2 separate regions of the Homo sapiens genome follow, and region 1 is linked to region 2. The links are contacts of gene promoters, found by promoter capture Hi-C in human tissues and cell types (Jung and others, 2019). All regions are on one chromosome and are shown on one strand. The core of a region is centred on a gene start or on the middle of the fragment in contact, and the rest is flanking DNA. Distances in the headings are between cores, read along the strand shown.

Evidence for each region. Contacts are between HindIII fragments. The study calls those that stand out against the background at their distance.
Region 1: a contact is called between a fragment that was not itself captured here and the fragment with the promoter of PTPN23 in region 2, in 2 of the 25 tissues and cell types used here (lymphoblastoid cells and mesendoderm cells).

Annotation. Positions count from the first base shown.
Region 1 is chr3:46,840,849-46,843,548 of GRCh38, reverse strand. No RefSeq gene overlaps it. Among named protein-coding and RNA genes, the nearest start is that of MYL3, 21 kb to the left of the region's middle. The HindIII fragment of the contact is 6,369 bases long and covers 1-2,700 here.
Region 2 is chr3:47,379,600-47,382,299 of GRCh38, reverse strand. PTPN23 (protein tyrosine phosphatase non-receptor type 23) reads right to left here and starts at 1,279. Exons shown (of 25, transcript NM_015466.4): 1 at 1,120-1,279. The coding sequence starts at 1,203. It overlaps PTPN23-DT (PTPN23 divergent transcript), which reads left to right and starts at 808. Exons shown (of 1, transcript NR_185912.1): 1 at 808-2,700. RefSeq lists enhancers at 540-1,215, 1,257-1,476, 1,647-1,706, 1,216-1,893. The HindIII fragment of the contact is 13,956 bases long and covers 1-2,700 here.

The DNA.
Region 1 (2,700 bases), core at 180-2,679, 540 kb after region 2:
ATCTCTCTGACCCTTTGGTAGTCCTATCTCCCTGTGAAACATTCTCCACTTTTGGGTACTCATGTGATTAGACTGGGCTTTTCCAGATAATCCAGGATAATATCCCCATTTCAAGGTCCTGAACCTGAATCACATCTATAAATTTCCTTTTACAACGTAAAGTAACATATTCACAGATTTTGGGTACACGAACACGTATCTGTTTGAATCCCTGCTTTCACTTCTTTTGGGTATATACCTAGAAGCAGAATTACTGGATGATATGGTAATTCTATGTTTAACTTTTTGAGGAATTGTCATACTGTTTTCCACAGTCACTGCACCATTTGACATTCCTACCAGCAAGGCACGACATTCCAATTTCTTCATGTCCTCTCCAATACATGTTATTTTCTGTTCTGCTCGTTTCTTTTTAATTAACCATCTTGGTGGGTATGAAGTGTTATCTCACTTTAGTTTTAATTTGCATTACCCTAATGATTGAGTGTCTCAATGTTGAGCATCTTTTCATGTGCTTACTGGCCATTATTTATATTCTTTGGAGAAGAGGTTTATTTACAAATTTATTTGCCCATTTAAAATAGAATTGTCCTTTTGTTTTTGAGTTGTAGGAGTTCTTTATATATTCTGGATATTAATCCCTTATCAGGTATATGATTTGAAAATATTTTCTCCCATTCTGTGGGGTATCTTTTTACTCTCTTGATAGTGTCCTTCATAGCACAAAGGCTACCAATTTTTATTAAGTCCAGTTTGTCTACTTTTTTCTTTTGTGGCAGTGCTTTTGGTGTCATATCCAAGAAATCATTGCCAAATCCAATATCATGAAGATATTCTCCTATGTTTTCTTCTAAGAGTTTTATAGTTTAACTCGTACATGGGGCTTTTGATACATTTTGGGTTAATTTTTGTATATGATGTAAGGTAAAGTTCTACCTTTATTCTTTTGCTTGTGGATATCCATTTTTCCCAGAACTATTTTTTGGAAAGACTGTCCTTTCTCCATTGAATGCTCTTGGCATCCTTGTTGAAAATCATTTGACCATATATGAGAGGGTTTATTTCTGGGTTCTCTATTCCATTGGTCTGTATGTCTGTCATTATGCCAATACCATGCTGTTTTAATTAATATAGCTTTATAGTAAATTTTCAAATCAGAAAGTGTGAGTCTTCCAATTTTGTTCTCTTTTTCAAGATTGTTTTAGCTATTTGGGGTGCTTCAGATTCCAAATGAATTTTAGGACGGTTTTTCTATATCTGCCAAAAAAAGTCATTGGGGTTTTGATAGGGATTGAATTGAGTTAATTTGGATAATTATTGTCACCTTAATAATATTAAGTCTTCCAATCCACGAATATGGAATATCTTTCCATTTATTTAAGTATTCTTTAATTTCATCAAGCAGTGTTGTACAGTTTTCAGTATGCAGGTATTTCACATCTTTGGTTAAATTTATTCCCAAGTGTTTTATTCTTTTTGATGCTATTGTAAATGGGATTGTTTTCTTAATTTCCTTTTTGATCATTCACAGTTATAGAAATGCAACTAATTTTTATAAGTTGATTTTGTATCCTTCAACTTTTCTGAATTTGTTTATTATCTCTAACAGGCTTTTGTGGGAGTTTTAGGGTGGAGTCTTTGGGGTTTTCTAAATATAGGATCATGGCACCTGCAAACAGAGATAATTTTACTTCTTCTTTTCCAATTTGGATGCCTTTTGTTTCTTTTTCTTGTCTAATTGCTCTGGCCAGAACTTCCAATACAATGTTGAATAGAAGTGGTGAAAGTAAGCATCCTTGTCTTGTTCCTGATCTTGAGAGAAAAGCTTTTAGTCTTAAATCATTGAGCATGATGTTAGATGGTGGTTTTTCGTATGTGGTCTTTATTACATTGGAGAAGTTTCCTTCTATTCCTAGTTTATTGAGTGTTTTTATCGTGAGAGGGTGTTGAATTTTGTCAAATGCTTTTCTGTATCAATTGAGATCATCAAGTGATTTTTTCCCCTTCATTATATTAATGTGGCATATTACATTGATTGATTTTTGTATATTGAATCATCCTTGCTTTTGGGGAATAAATTCCACTTGATTAGCTGGGCATGGTGGCCCATGCCTGCAACCCCAGCACTTTGGGAGGCCAAGGCAGGAGGATCACTTGAGTCCAGGAATTCAAGACCAGCCTGGACAATACAGTGAGAGCCCATCTCTAGTTTCATTAAAAGAAAAATTCCACTTGCCATTGGGTATAATCCTTTTAATATGCTGCTAAATTCATTTTGCTAGTATGTGACTGAGGAGTTTTGCATCAATGTTCATAAGGAATATGCACCTGTAGTTTTTTCTTATAATGTATTTGTCTAGCTTTAGTAATAGACTAGTGCTGGCCTTATAGAATGAGTTAGGAAATGTTTCCCCCTCTTGAATTGTTTGAAAGAGTTTGAGAAGAGTTGGTATTAATTCTTTAAATGTTTGATAGAATTCACCAGTGAAGCCATCTGATCCACAGTTTTTCTTTGTTGGGAGATTTTTGATTACTAATTCAGTCTCCTTACTAGTTATAGGTCTACTCAGATTTTCTATTTTTTCAAGGTTCAATCTTGGTAGATTGTGTATTTCTAGGAATTCGTCCATTTCTTTTAGGTTATTCAGTTTATTGGTGTACAGTGTTCATAGTATTCTATTTTAATTCTTTTTATTTCTG
Region 2 (2,700 bases), core at 30-2,529:
AAGAAGAGAGCAACGTCTGGATAACCGTTAACAAAATTCTAGAATTTTGGATCAATTACCCTCATTTCCTGGCCCCAAGAGGCTAGATGATGGACTCAAACACTGTCTGAACTAAGGCAATGGTGTATGGCGATTAGAGGGGAGACAGCTTCTTGGGAAACTACTTCCAAACCCATTTTCTTTTTCCTATTTGTCTTCCCAAGCGTCTCGCTAAGTGGTGCACCATCTAGATTGGGGCTTACTCTGGCATCTGCTGTGCTAAGCCCACAAGGCCCCCCACCTGCGACGGCCTCCTGGTTGTTCCTTTTCATTTCTGCTCTAGCCCTCAGTGCTACCAATACAGCGGATGTCTCGGAGGGCACCTGTGTTCAATCACCACACCTGAACCTCTCCACAGAAGTTCCTTGCCTTAGTCAACGCCAAACCTGCCCGTCTGTTCTTCCAACACAGTAAGATTTCTCTGAGCTCTACAACACTGTTTATGCCCTCCAGTCGGTTACGAAAAGCAGTAACCCTCCTAAAAATGTCGTGGGATTGTATTGTTTGGTCCAAAGAGACTCCCGAATGGGAGACCATACAGAATCGCAGCAATTGTAAAACAAACCCTCACCGCAGGGGTCGGGCATCTCCCTGGGCCACCGGGGCTCACGTCTTAAACACACGCCCCTGAGCCATCCCCAGTGTCTGTCCCAGGCGGGCGTGGACTTGACAGCGCACCGAGGGCCGGGCGCAGCAAAAGAATCCGCACGGTCAGGGCCGCCCACCGCTCCCGCGCGGGGCGGTCCTGGCATGGAGGAGGGGCGGGGCAGAACTGGGTCCGAGCGTCAGAAGGAGGAAGTGTGCTGCCTCAGTGGGAACAGCGGATGACTCGGGGCAGAAGTCGGGAACCGGGTTCAGATGAAGATGCAGGTGCTAGCACGGGGCTATCGGGGAGGAGAAGAATGGCCTGCGGGCGCCGGGGTGTGGGACAGGCTGAGGAAAACCGGCGAAGGCCCCTCCTGGCCTCACCGGACCCTGCGACCGGGCCTGAGGAGGTGATGGGCGCGCAGGGGGGCGTCACGCGCTTGCAGACGACGGAGATACGCGGCGGATAGGGGGGAAGATGGAAGGCAAGCTCACCTTCTTCACAGCTGGCTGGAAGTGAAAGTCACCGGCCTCCTTCAGGTCCAGCCAGATCATGGGCATGCGGGGCACGGCCTCCATGGCGGCTGGCACCCGCCGGCCACCCGGCCACTCCCGTAGCTGCTGCAGCTGCTGGCTCAGCCACGAGCCCAGCCCCGCCCCTTCGTGCCGGAAGTCACTGGTCACGGGAGGGAATGAAAAATGCCAGCGGCCTGCCGGGAGTTGCAGTGAACCCAGCCACCCGCTCGCGTAGTCTTTTGCGCAGGCGCTGTCCCTGTTGCGCATGCTCAGTCTTCTTCGCGCGGAGGGAGTAGGGCGGGGAGGAGCTCGCCAGCCCGAGGCGAAACGGCTTCTGGGATAGTAGTCTTCATCCACTAAACTGAGAGGCGCGGAGCGAGCTTATTCCCCGCTCCCGGGCCAAGCCCAGCTGCGGGTCCCGCCCGCCGCGCTCCTCCCTCCTAGGAAGAGCATGAGACCTCACCTATGAACTTGCCCTCCCACGTATTGTCAAGAGCCGTGGAGGACTGGTGCTGTGGTAGAGATGACGTGGCGGGCGGGCCGCTGGAAAGAGATGACGCGAAAACGGGCCTTAGAGAGGGTGCGGAGGGAGCACCTGGCCTGAAGGAGTCGGGGCTGAGAGCTGGGGGTTTCAGTCCCAGTGCTGCGAAGGCTTTCGAGCTTTGGAACAGAATCACTGACCGGAGACTGGCCTACTCAGCCCAGCCTGGGAGGCCGGGCAGTGCCCAAGGGAGACGGACGATAGGGAGGGAGCGCCTGGATGGAGGGTCTCAAGCGGAGTGAGGAGGCCCCGGGCCCTGTGGGGAAGTGGGTGGGGGAAGGTATACGGCCAGGTGAGCACCCAGGGACGCCCACAGTATCTGGAAGGAGACCACGGAATGGAGAGCACCTGTTGCCTCTGGAGAGGGGACCTATAGAGCAGGAATTGTTAAATCATATGGCTGTATCACCTACTTTTAGAAATAAATAATAGGCTACTCGGGAGGCTGAGGCTGGAGGTTCAATCGCTTGACCTGGGAGGCGGAGATTGCGGTGAGCCTAGATCTTGCCACTGCTCTCCAGCCTGAGCGACAGAGCGAGACTCCGTCTCAAAATAATAATAGTAACAATAGAAATAACAGAGAATGGCCTGGAGATAGTGAGTGCAAAAGTGCGAGCTGGGAGATCAGTGAGCCTTTTGTAGTCTTCCAGGAGACAGGTGATTGTGGCTTGGAGCAGAGGGAAGTAAAAAGTGAGCAAAGAAATATTTTGCCCACTTTGAGAAATATTTGAGGAATATTTTGGAGACAAAAGTATCAGAACTTGGAATGGATGGATGTAAGGGCATGAGGACGTCGAATATGATTTCCAAGCTTCTGGCTTGTGCAGGTGGGTGGCTGTGGGGCTGTTTACTGATAAGGGAAAACAAGGGAAGAGCAAAGGTTCAGGTCCGTGTTAAGCTCGAGGTCAAGGCCTTTGACTCGTTCTGGATGAAATGTGGAGACCACGATGCCGGGTGCGGTGGTTCACGCTTGTAATCCCATCACTTTGGGAGGCCGAGGCGGGCGGATCGCTTAAGCC